2 separate regions of the Homo sapiens genome follow, and region 2 is linked to region 1. Evidence: promoter capture Hi-C in 16 types of primary human blood cells and fetal thymus (Javierre and others, 2016). All regions are on one chromosome and are shown on one strand. The core of a region is centred on a gene start or on the middle of the fragment in contact, and the rest is flanking DNA. Distances in the headings are between cores, read along the strand shown. Region 1 holds the start of RBM48 (RNA binding motif protein 48). Region 2 holds the start of SLC25A40 (solute carrier family 25 member 40).

What was found. The method cuts DNA at HindIII sites, captures the fragments that hold promoters and counts their contacts. A CHiCAGO score of 5 or more calls a contact.
Region 2: the fragment with the promoter of SLC25A40 here is called in contact with the fragment with the promoter of RBM48 in region 1 in 2 of 17 cell types (non-activated CD4 T cells and total B cells); the score reaches 8.9 in non-activated CD4 T cells.

The regions. Positions count from the first base shown.
Region 1 is chr7:92,525,515-92,531,343 of GRCh38, reverse strand. RBM48 (RNA binding motif protein 48) reads right to left here and starts at 2,549. Exons shown (of 5, transcript NM_032120.4): 1 at 2,420-2,549; 2 at 1,678-1,868. The coding sequence starts at 2,530. PEX1 (peroxisomal biogenesis factor 1) reads left to right here and starts at 2,824. Exons shown (of 24, transcript NM_000466.3): 1 at 2,824-3,037. The coding sequence starts at 2,909. RefSeq lists enhancers at 2,246-2,625, 3,226-3,405 and a silencer at 2,766-2,995. The HindIII fragment of the contact is 3,452 bases long and covers 1-2,737 here.
Region 2 is chr7:87,871,367-87,878,098 of GRCh38, reverse strand. It overlaps SLC25A40 (solute carrier family 25 member 40), which reads left to right and starts at 1,739. Exons shown (of 12, transcript NM_018843.4): 1 at 1,739-2,003. It overlaps DBF4 (DBF4-CDC7 kinase regulatory subunit), which reads right to left and starts at 1,606. Exons shown (of 12, transcript NM_006716.4): 1 at 1,321-1,606; 2 at 1-46. The coding sequence starts at 1,366. RefSeq lists enhancers at 1,327-1,446, 1,634-2,143 and silencers at 1,507-1,766, 1,897-2,346. The HindIII fragment of the contact is 3,397 bases long and covers 1-3,163 here.

The DNA of each region.
Region 1 (5,829 bases), core at 1,300-3,799:
GAAAAAACTGAGTCAGTTTGCAGAAAGGAGTAACAGTAGAAACCACAATAGCTAATGTTTACTGTATTCTGACCAGGATACACCTTTATATGGATTATCTCATTTCATCCTCATACAACCCCAAGAAGTAGATAGGTCCCTTTACCATACAGATTTTATGGAAGAGGAAAAACTTAAACAGGTTAAATAACTTGCCCAAGATCATGAAGCTAGTAAGCAGTGGAAATGGAAAACTTACTCCAAACCCAACTTTTTTTTTCTTTTGAGACAGAGTCTCACTCCATCACCCAGGATGGAGTGTAGTGGCCCATAAGACTCACTGCAACCTCCACCTCCTGGGCTCAACTGATTCTCCTACCTCGGCCTCCCAAGTAGCTGGAACTACAGGAATGCACCAACACACCCAGCTTGATTTTTGTATTTTTACAAAATACAAAATACTGGCCATGTTGGCCAGTCTGGTCTCGAACTCCTGGGCTCAAGCAATCTGCCTACCTTGGCCTTCCAAAGTGCTGGGATCAAATCCAACTTTTTCTTTTTTTTTTTTTGAGACAGTCTCACTCTTGCCCAGGCTGGAGTGCAATGGCATGATCTTGGCTCACTGCAACCTCCACTTTCTGGGTTCAAGTGATACTTGTGCCTCAGCCTCCCCAGGAGCTGGGATTAAAGGTTTGCACCAACACAGCCGGCTAATTTTTGTATTTAGTAGAGTGAGGGTTTCACCATGTTGGCCAGACTGGTCTTGAACTCCTGACCTCAGGTGATCCACCTACCTCGACCTCCCAAAGTGCTGGGATTACAGGTGTGAGCCACGTGCCTGGCGTCAAACCAGAATTTTTTTTTTTTTTTGAGACAGAGCCTTGCTCTGTCATCTAGGCTGGAGGGCAGTGGCATGATCTCTGCTCACTGCAATCTCCACCTCCCAGGTTCAAGCAATTCCCATGCCTCAGCCACCTGAGTAGCTGGGACTACAGGTCCGCACCACCACACCCGGCTAATTTTTGTATTTTTAGTAGAGGAGGGGTTTCCATCATGTTGGCCAGGCTTGTCTTGAACCCCTGACCTCAAGTGATCTGCCTGCCTCGGTCTCCCAAAGTGCTGGGATTACAGGCGTGAGTCACCACGCCCAGGCTTCAAACCCAAATTTTTTTTTTTTTTTTTTTTTTGAGGCAGAGCTTCCCTCTTGTTGCCCTGTCTGGAGTGCAATGGCGCAATCTCGGCTCACTGCAACCTCTGCCTCCCGGTTTCAAGCGATTCTCCTGCCTCAGCCTCCCGAGTAGCTGGGATTACAGGCCTGCGCCACTAGACCCAGCTAATTTTGTATTTTTAGTAGAGAGGGGGGTTTCACCATGTTGGCCAGGCTGGTCTCAAACTCCTGACCTCGTGATCCGCCCACCTCGGTCTCCCAGAGTGCTGGGATTGCAGGCGTGAGCCACCGTGCCTGGCCAAACCCAACTTCTACTCTACCAAGCTACAGGACATTAAATTGTTAAGCATGGGAATGATGTGATGGATACAGTGTTTCAGTAAAGTTAACTTTTAAAAAGGCTGGAGGAAGATATGCTAGATTACGTTTTGGGGTAATTCAGTTATGAATGAGGGAAACTTGGGGCCAAAATGACAGAAATATGAATGGAAGAAATGAGGAAATGAGTCATTTCTTAACTTGCACATTACCTTGCACTTTGTAAGTTCATAAATTTAATAAGATAAACTTCAGTAAAGTCTTCTGCTGGGTATTCATCTAGAGCATTGTACTGTTCAATTGCACCATATAAAGCGAATCGCTCAACTAATTCCTTCATGACTCCCACAGCAGGAACTCCTTGTATTAATAAGTACTGAGATTCCAAATTGATTGTATATACCTGAAAGAAATGCAGAGTTATTAAACGTATTTCGCAAATAAGCCTAGGACGAATCTGCCTCTATTTTTTTTTAAAGAGAACTTTGAAAACAAGAAATAATCTGTTCAACCCAGTCAGCAAAAGAACACAAAATGAAATTTCTGCCATTCCTTCTGCATAAAGAATAACAGTCCATGTGAGAGGCTACCTAAGGCATATAACAGACTACCTTCAGTCGACATTTTTTTCCAGAAATTGAGTCGGTAGAAGTCACTGGGAACAATCACTCAACGAATATTCACTGAGTGCTTACCTGTGCCAAGTAGTACTGTAAACACAGAAGATCCAATGACTAAAACCAAGGCCTATTCTCGTGGAGTTGATGTTCTAATACTTGACCAAAGGCGTCGTGAGAATCTTTGGTAACTGACCGAGGGTTCTTCACGCCAGCTCTAACGAGAGACAGATCTGACGGAAGCCTTGTCGTGCCTTTATTTCCGTAGGCTGGTCATATGGCGCTAGCACTCACATAAAGCTACCGAGGAGAGCGAATGAAACCAAAATCACTTTACCTTCACAGCACGAGGCCGTCGTCCCTCTCGATATTTGGCCCGTGTGTCGCATACCGCCCTCTGGACGTGGTGATCAAATAAACTCCCTAGCTCCCCGCCGCTCGACGCCATCTTGCCTACTTTGATCCTCGCAGGGAGGACAACATCCGCCCTACTGAGCTCCCTTTTATCCAATAAGAGAGCGGGATGAGTTAAGGAGTGCCAGGATTGGCTGGAGAATCGACAGCGTCGGCCATCGTTTCCTGCGTGCGAAGATTTGATGAACGAGGTGCCGCCCCCGAGCGGCTCGGCGGAGAGGCGCGGTGGGTGACAGAAGCTTTCTTGTCCCACCCACTACAGGCTTACGGCAGGATGCGCAGCGGGGAGAGGGGGCGGGGCCGCAGGGGGCGGGGCCGATCGATCTCCTCCGGCTCCGACGTCCTCGGCCTGCCGGGTCCCGGGTCCTTTGCGGCGCTAGGGTGGGCGAACCCAGAGCGACGCTCCGGGACGATGTGGGGCAGCGATCGCCTGGCGGGTGCTGGGGGAGGCGGGGCGGCAGTGACTGTGGCCTTCACCAACGCTCGCGACTGCTTCCTCCACCTGCCGCGGCGTCTCGTGGCCCAGCTGCATCTGCTGCAGGTAACCTGCCGGCCCCGAGCCACCTGATCTTCAGCCTGGGGTCGGACGAGGCCGAAGCCTCTCAGGGACGCGGCGGGACACCGGCTGCCACCCGGGCGCCGCCGAAGCGCGCAGAGATCAGGGTCCCTCGACGGCAGGGCCCTTCTGGGTAGTCTCTGGATCCCACAAGTCCAGTGCAGCCCTGGGCTCGTCTTATCCCAGGTCTTTTCACTTGGTGAAACTGAACCTAGAAACGTCCTAATATTCTACCACTGTTTTTATAAATATTCCTTATTCCAGGCTGGAAAAGCTCCTGAGAAGTGGTTTGTTTTTATTATTTTAAAAGGTGTTTTCCTTGCCAGCCATTTCCAGTTAACCTGCGCTGCTGCCGTCCGGGCCGCGAGAGCGGGACGCAGAGTTGTTGGCGGAGCCCCTGTCGGTTCCCGGGGACTAAGCACCGCGTCCCATGAGCGGGAAAGGTTAATACAATGATGGTTCTGCCCTGCGTCGCTGACGCGGAACACAGCTGTAGTGTGTTAGGAACACATAACGTAGTTAAGATCACTTGAAGCTCTGCGATCAGTCGCCCTTCTGGACGTTGTGGTTAGGATGTTTCACAGTTCTAACCACTGGTGGAGATACAGCGTCCATATTTTCATAATTAAAAATAGAGGCACATGGTCTCACGAGTTTGAGTGTACTTATGGGGGCAAAAGGACGGCGTATTTGAAATCCTCATAAATCCTGGATGCATGGTACCCACCAGTGGCTAATCTATGCAATGAATAGAGTTTGCAATAATTTCAAGCATCCCTTCTTTCCACTTGAGTTACTTCCCCATACCTAGGGGAAGATATTTTTGGTCCACTGAAAACATGAGTTCAGCAGAATCCTCCTATCATCGTCGTTATTATTTTTTACCACTAAGTAGACAATCTTTTGGTTTTTGATGGGCTTTATGGCTAGAGACAAATCAGTCACTGTCACCAAGTTCCAGGTAGAAGTTGGTTCAGTGCTCTGTCAGCTTCGATGGGATTTTTCAACATGTTTTCAAATCTGCACTTAATAGTAGGAATGCTTTCTTACAGTAACTCTAATTTGATCCTAAGATGTAGTTGTTACCTTACATTCATCACTGTTTAAGAATTTAGTGGTCTTGATCTTTGTTTTAAATTTTGAGCCTTCGGGAAGTACTTATAAGAATTAATTCATGCATATCTTTTTGAAATGTAAATGTCTTTAGCCCTGGAACAAATTGCTGTTTCTGTTCAGCCCATATTAGCAGAATAGGTCAACTTTACTTTCTAATTATCAATGTAATAAGTTTATTACTTTATAGATTCCATAAATCTATACATTTATTCCTCGATGAATTATATAAATTTATAGAATTTATGTTTTATAGAAAATTTGGAAAGCATGGAAAATTATTAACAAGAAAATAAGTTACCCATAATCCCAGAACTTAGAGGTGACTAATGTTGACAGTTTGGATCAAATCTTCCAGTTTTGTTTCTAATCTTTATTTTTAACATAAATGAGGTCCTGTATACACACGTACAGTTTTGTGTCCTGGTGTTTTTATTTAATGTTATTATGAGTGTTTTATTTTGTTAAAAGGTCATCATTTTAAGTTGTTAATTAGTATTCTAGCACAAATTTGCCATAATTTATTTAATTGTTTACTATGATTGACCATTTAGATTGTACTTAATTTTTAGGCATTAGAAGTGATAAACTATATTTTAATCAGACGTTGAAAATAACACATCTTTGTTTAGAAAACATCATTTTATTTCTGGTTGTCTAGGATAGATTCCCAGAATTCTTGGGTTAGAGGCCATAGATAATTATGAAAGCAGAAAGATTCACAAGTTGGGAGTTAATACTTGAATTACTTTATTTGGGGTGAAGCATTGAGTGCATAATACAGATCATGCAGTAATGGGAAGAAGGGTTGGAACAATGGTTTTCTGGCCTATGTCAGACTTACCTTGAAGCTTTTAAGAATACAGATGTTCTGATCAACCCTCAGACCTATTAAATCAGACCTAAAATCTTAGGGAATAGGCTTTAGGCATCTCTAATTTTAAAAAATTTATTCAGGCTACTTGGATGCACAAAAGAGTTGAGACCTACTGTCCTAGAATCATAGAATTTTAATGACGATAGAGACCTTAAGCATCTAGGTCGTTTCTGTACTTTTACATGTAAGGAAACTGGCATTCCTAGGCCAGTACCATTGCCATGCAGCTAATTTGCCCTCTTGTCTATAGCTCACTCTGCATCACCCAACCTACCGTTCTCACTGTTTCTTCTATAACCAATCTCCTTCCCACTTCTGTTCTCTTACTCATGCCATTCTTCCCTCAGTCATTTTTCTTCCTTCCATACAAATTCCATGTCTTTAAAAAGGAATAATCCTACCTCCTCCACATAGCTTTCCAATTCTCTGTTGCCCACATTTGTCTCCCTTTCAATACTTCTCTGTTGTGTTATGTGACACATCACATTTGATATACTCTGTACTGTGTTTCAAGTATTGTATTCTCTTGTTTACTCAAGTCATTATTTCAGGACTGACTACCCAGTAGATGCTTTAAGTCAGGATTTCTCAACCTTGGCACTGTTGACATTTTGAGCTGGATAATTTTTTGTTTTGGGGGCTCTCCTGTACATTTTAAGATGTTTAACAGCACCCTTGGCCTCTATCCAGTAGACGCCTGTACTGCCTCCCCCTATCTGTGACAACCAAAAAGGTCTTCAGACATTGTCAGATGTCTACTGAAGGACAAAATCACCTCTGGTTGAGA
Region 2 (6,732 bases), core at 490-2,989, 4.7 Mb after region 1:
GATTTCAGAGATGGTCTGTTTTTTTCATTTTTGACTTGGATTCCACCTATTAAAGATGTTTAGAATCAGATGTTTTACACAGACACTTTTACTATTTTTAAAATATTTCATTATACAATATTACAGAATAAAAATCCTTACAACCCTACCAGTTTAAGTTATTAGCATTGAAATGTATTTCTTTGTAGTACTACTTAGGATAGAGGCAAAATGCCCTATATACTTTCACAGACCGCATATTGTAAAATAATAGTTGACTCAGCAAGAAATATTCGTGTGTTTATTCCTGAGGCACGGAACTATATAAAACTCTTTTGAAAGATTTTCTTTTTTTAGGATGTAAACTCCATGGGGATATTTAATACTCAACTATTTATTGAGCATCTGCCATTCTGCTGAACATTCAAAACTGGTGTTTAAACTTCATTTAGCGATGAAAGAATCCTCTGTTACGCAGAATAACCTAGTCCTCAAGGGTTTCAGACTGCTCAAGTTTTAGTTTCATATAAAGTTTGTCTGCATATTAACAACTAAACGGTCCATTTCACATACAATTTGTCTACGTATTAAGAACTTAACGGTCCATTACGAAGAACTAAACCTTTCATTATTTTCATTAGAAACAGATCTGAGATCCAAGCAACTGCTTTAAAAATTAATTTTTCAAACGCAATCTGTTCTTAAATTGGTAGTTACTACACACACACAAACACCTGTACAAAAAACTTAGGTGCTGGAATGTTTCACCAAATAAAGTGACTGAAAATGGAAATTTGCTTTTGTTTCCCTGTTTGTAATGTTGAAACCAGCAATGGGGTGTTTGAAATACAATGCTTTCCCCCAACTTATGAGGAAAGGAAAATAAACTTTCAAGGGTAAGACCAAAAATCCACCCACAATCACTCAATCTAATCCTGAAGCGAAAAGCCACGAGCGCGTCTGACTTTAAATTGAGGATGCAGTCCGTCGCCTCCAAGGGCCCGGGCGGAGGCTTAGCATATGCGAGAGCCCGGGAGCAGACAGCGCCGCAGTCCCGGCGAGGTCCCGGATCTGCACATTGTTTGCTAGTTTTCAACCGAAGGCACGACCGGGAATCAATCTGGGACCGCCGCTGTAAACGGCAGAGCGCTCGAGGGGCCGGGTCAGGATCCGTTCCTTCTTAGGCAAAACACTGAACGGGGGCTCCTTCCTTCAGACCCCAGAGGCCGGTCAGAAGAAAAGAAGCTGAGGACCCGGCGGGAGAAGTCTGAAGAATCAATGGTGGAACCACGAGGGGAGGAAAGGATTAAAGGGACTGCAGGCGGAGGAGGGGCTTCTTACCCTGGAAATGTCCTTTACTGTGGATCCTCATGGCTCCGGAGTTCATGGCAGTCGCCCGGCACCTACATGCTGGGTCCGGAGAAAGTGTCGCACCGGGCAGCCGCGAAAGCACGGCTTCCCCCGGCCTGTTGACAGGACGGCCGCCTCTCTCCTTCCGCCAGCTACGGCCTCTACGCAGTAGAGGTACCGCGTCTGCAGGTCGGGTTTCCGGGGCCGGATCCGGCTCCAAGGCGCGGAGGAGGAAGGCGCAAAGCACAAACGAGTGGGCTGCGGCGGTTGAAGATTTGAAAACGCGTCACGCGGCCGCGGCGCCGATACGCGCGCCCCGCCCCGTCTCACGCCACGCGCCGTGCCCCGCCTCGCGCTCGCCCCTCGTGCCTGCCTTCTCGCGCTGCGCGCCCCGCCCCCTCACGCCGCCGTCCTTCTCGCGCCTCGCTCTGGCCCTGCAGGTTGTGTTTCCGCCTCTACCCCGCCTCCATTCCGTTGCTCTCTCAGTCTCAGACCCGGGCTCTCGGTCCGCCGCTTCAGGTCTTGGCGCAGCCTCAGAGAGTTGGCGCGGCTCTGTGTTGACCAAACCTAGTGGATGCAGTTAGCGCCGGAGCCCGGCCCCGCCCGTCACCAGGGTTATTCCCGCCTTCTAGGTTTGCCAGGACTGCCGGCCCTGCAGCTGCCTTCTGCCCCAGGTATGCTAATTTTCCACTGGTCGGACGTCTGGGAAGCTGAAGGCGAGGGGCTTTGGCTGAGTCCGGACTCAGCTCTGGCCGGGCCCGGGGCCGGGGCCGGAACCGGAGCCGGACAGCGGCGGCAGCCGCAGCCCCTGCTCAGCGCGCCCTGGGTCGCACAGCAAGCGGGGTTTTCCCGCGGTCACTGCCGACCCCACCGGCTGAGGACAGCTGCAGAGGGACGTGCGGGAGTGAGGGCGGCCCCGGGGGGCGTCTGAGGGAGGGTCTGGCCAGGCGGCCCCGGCCTTGACGGCAGCGCCACCGCAGAACGCCTCCAGGTCACTTTGTGTCCTTGGGTAGTTGGCTATTTGCGCTGTCCTGTTGACTTTTATTGTATTCAGACCTGTTTTCTTTTAGTTGAGTGTAAGTTTATTTCAACAATGAAGGAGTGGAAAGTAACATCTCATTTTTTTTTCCTGTAAAACAGAGATTAAAGATCAAATTAAAATGCTTGTGAATATATTTTAATTTTATAAGTTGGAACATGCCTCTCCAAAAAAAAAAAAAAATCTGTTTCTTCAGGAGGAAGAGGATATTTTGAACTATTTTGCATTCCTCTACTCCAGGCCATAATAGGCACTCCTGTAGTGGTTGATTTTTTTACCTGGTAGCTCAAGGAAGTCAGAGTATCAGCGTTACGGTTTTGCAGGTAGGTACCTTAAAGAATAGACAAGGGTGGGTTGTGACAAGATTAGCTGGAGAACGCAGAGAACAGGTTTGCTAAGGGAAATGAGAGTTTGGTTTTAGACAGGTTTATGTTGAAGGGCCTGGGGCGACAGTCATGGAACTATGCTTATTAGACAGTTAAAGATGTTTATGACTCGAGAGAAATGTCTAGCAGAAGTGGACATGGGAAGAGGAAATAGAGATTGATTTGATATCTCTCCAATAAAATATTTCTGCATCAAGGTCTATTGATGTCAATCATGGGGCAATTCATTAGAGGTTAACAGATCTTGAGTGGTGGAAGGAAGTGTAGTTTGAACAAACATATTCAATATTGTAATTTCTATGGGAAAAAACTTATTTTCAAAATATAAGCTACAGAGAGCACAAAATGTTTATATTTACAGAAAGATTTAAAAAGTTGGGAAGCACTAATATAGAATGTAGTTAAAGCTTTGGGAGGAAATGAAATTGCCAAGGAGAGCATGTGAAATAAGAGAATTGATTATAAGCGTCGTTGATGAAATAGTGAAAGAGATGGAGAAAATGCCACAGAATTGGGAAGAGACTGCAAACATTGGAATCATATGGGCTTCACTAACTACTTGGCCTCTGGGTAATTTTGAGCCCCAATTTTAATCTATTAAAAGGGGGTAGTACTTCTCAGGGATGTTGTGAAGATTAAATGAACATTTTTGAATGCTTAGTACAGTGCCTGGCACAGAGTAGAGCTCCTTAAGAGCTCCATAATTACTATCATTCTAGTGAACACTGCACCAGTTCCTTCATCCCCAGGACAGATAAGGTTAAGACTTGAAAAATAAGTATTTGATTTTGGCGTTTCAGGTATCCTTGGTTTCCTTAAGGGTAATTTGAGTAGGTGGCAGAGATAAGTACAGTACTAGATAAAAATTATAATCTTGAAGTTCAGACAGGTTGAGTGTACTCTTTCAAAAAAATTTGTTATTGTAGGAAAGTATAATGAAGGGAAGACTGGATCTTTGGAAGGTTTAGAGGATGTGGGAAAGATTTTTAAGCATGCTTCTATTGAGGAACTTTTTTTTAAAAAAGGAAGTCCCATTTTATGGTCTTGTGAAAGATGAATTGTGTGTCTTATTTGCCGTGAAGAGGAAGGACAGTAACATAGTTGCACCCTATGCGGTTAGACTCACCCTCGACTGCACTGAAGATGGTAATTCCAAGCAATAAATAAGCAGGAAGTCCGCTTTATGCAATAGTTAGTAATTTTCTAATCTATTATCCAAGGTTAGTTTTTAAAATATTACTGGAACCTAAATCTGTTAGTAGCCACAGAAAGGATATGGCTGTAGTCAGTAAGGATAGAAACCTCCTTTTTATTGTCCAGTAATCAGGTCTGTTGGTAAGAGGGTAGGGTTTGTCTTAAAGTAGATCTTGAAAATATGCTTGAAAACATTTCTTCAGAGGAAGGGTAGACATTTAAGAAGAAGTGAATGGGGGCAGGGTTATTTATGGTGAGAAACTTTGTTCAAGAGTTATATTAGGCAAAATTGGAGAACATTGAGCAGAATCATGATCTAATTAAATGAATATGTGGCTGTGAATCAAGAGAAATGAATTTTATTCATTGCTGGCCCTGTCCCTAACTAGTTTTGTGACCATGGGCAAATGTTAACCTTTCTGGCTGGGCACGGTGGCTCAAGCCTATAATCCCAGCACTTTGGGAGGCCGAGGTGGCGGATCACGAGGTCAGAAGTTGGAGACCAGCCTGGCCAACATGGTGAAACTCTGGCTGTACTAACAATACAAAAATTAGCTGGGCATGGTGGTCCCCGCCTGTAACCCCAGCTACTCAGGAGGCTGAGGCAGGAGAATCACTTGAACCCAGAAGGCGGAGGTTGCAGTGAGCGGAAATTGCGCCACTGCACTCCAGCGTGGGCAACAGAGCGAGACTCCCTCTCAAAAAAAAAAAAAAAAAAAAAGTTAACCTTTCTATGCTAGAATTTACTTATCTATAAATGAAGATAATATTGTTCAGTCTACTCCACAACTTTTTGTGATTATCAGAGACCTAATCTGATCTTTCAGATTACCTCACACATACCCAAATATAAATTTTTTGTTCTAGAATCTAGACAAATTAATTTTGTAGTACTTATCACTTTTTTTTTCTTTCTTTTGCCTAAGCCTCTTCACCTGGCTCAGCAATTATTTTTTCCTGTCCATAGCAAACCTAGCTTAGATTCATCCTTTATCTCCTGCTCATTTGGGTATAATCATTCCTGTTTGATTCATTTGCCAACTATTGATATGTCGTCTTCTGAAATGTGTTCTGATCTATTTTTATTAATTTTCACATTTCATAGTCTCACTATCCTGGTGAATTGGAGGGCTTAAGGTTATATGTAAGGTTAAATTCTTAGTTTTGCAGGCTAAGTGCATGAAAGGATAGGATTGGTTAGTGGCTGTGGAACTGTAGTTAATGTCTCAGGTGACTGTGGGCTGGGAAACCAGGGTAAATTCAGCATTATCAGGCCCTTGAAGACATCCTAAGTGTGTTCACTTTAAATTACAGGCGCCTGCCACCATGCCCAGCTAATTTTTGTATTTTTAGTAGAGACAGGGTTTCACTGTGTTGGCCAGGCTGGTCTTGAACTCCTGACCTCAGATGATCCGCCAGCCTCGACCTCCCAAAGTGCTAGGATTACAAGCGTGAGCCACTGTGCCCAGCCTGCATTTAATTTGTTTATCTTGCTTTATTGTACTGGCTAAATTCTTCAGTACTTTGTTGAATAGAAATGATGAGAGTAGTAAATGGTTCTTATCAAACCGAGGAATTTCCCTTTCATTGAAAAGGATTGAAAGGCTTGCTCAAGCCTTTCAGTCATGGTGGGTGTGGGATGTTGTCAAAGGTTTTCTTCTTCCTCTATCATCTGACTGGACGTTTATTTATTTTTTATTCTTTTGCCTCAAGGGACCAGCTTTTATTGTTTTTTCCTATTGTTTTTCAGCTTTCAATTTTATTGGTTTTTATTTTCATTTCTTCTTCTTTTGGTTCTAATTTGCTCTTTTGTTTTTAGCTTAGATAGTTAATTTTAGGCCTTCTCTAATACAAGCATGTAATGCTATAAATTTCATTGTAAATGCTGCTTTAGCTGCATCTCAAAACTTTAGGTAGTTCTTGCCATTTTCTACTTCCATGTAAGTTTTGGAAAAGAGTTTGTCAAACCCACAAAAGTAAGAAGATTATGTAAGAAGATTAAGTAAGAGGTTATGATTCCTGTGAATCTATAGATAAATTTGGAAGAATTTATATCTTTATAGCATTTATTCTTCCAGTCTATGAAATGGTAATATTTCTTCATTTATTAAGATCTTTAATAAATTAGTGAAAGGTACACAACTACAGAACCAATGGATGTTAAAATGACAACAAAGTAATATTATGAACAACCTTATGCTGATAAATTCAACAACTTAAATGAAATGGACAAATTACTTGAAGTACACTAACTGTCAAAGCTTACAGGAGAAGAAATAACCTAAATATTCTTATATCTACTAAAGAAAACTCCAGGTCTGGATAGCTTCACTGGTGAATTCTCTCACATGTGCATTTTAAGAAAGGCAAAGATGATACAAAAAATTATGGATCAGCATCCCTAATAAACATAGATGGTTAAATTCTTAGCAAAAATTTAACAAATGAAAACCAATTCTATATACAAAGGATAAAACATCATGAGTAAATGGAGGTTTATTCCAGGAATCAAGCAGTGTAAATCACCATGTAACCAGACCAAAAAGGAAAAACCGTATGTATCATCTCAATAGATACTACCTGTTGCTGTATAACAAATTATTCCAAAATGTAGTTATCTTAAAATAACTAATCTTTATTATCTCACAGTTTTTGTGTGTCAGGAATCTGGATGCAGCTTAGTTAAGCAAGCTCAGGATCTCTCAGGACAGTGCAGTGAAGGTGTTGGCTGAGGTTGCATTTATCTCAAGGCTCAACCAGGGAGGGATCTAATTTAAAGCTCAC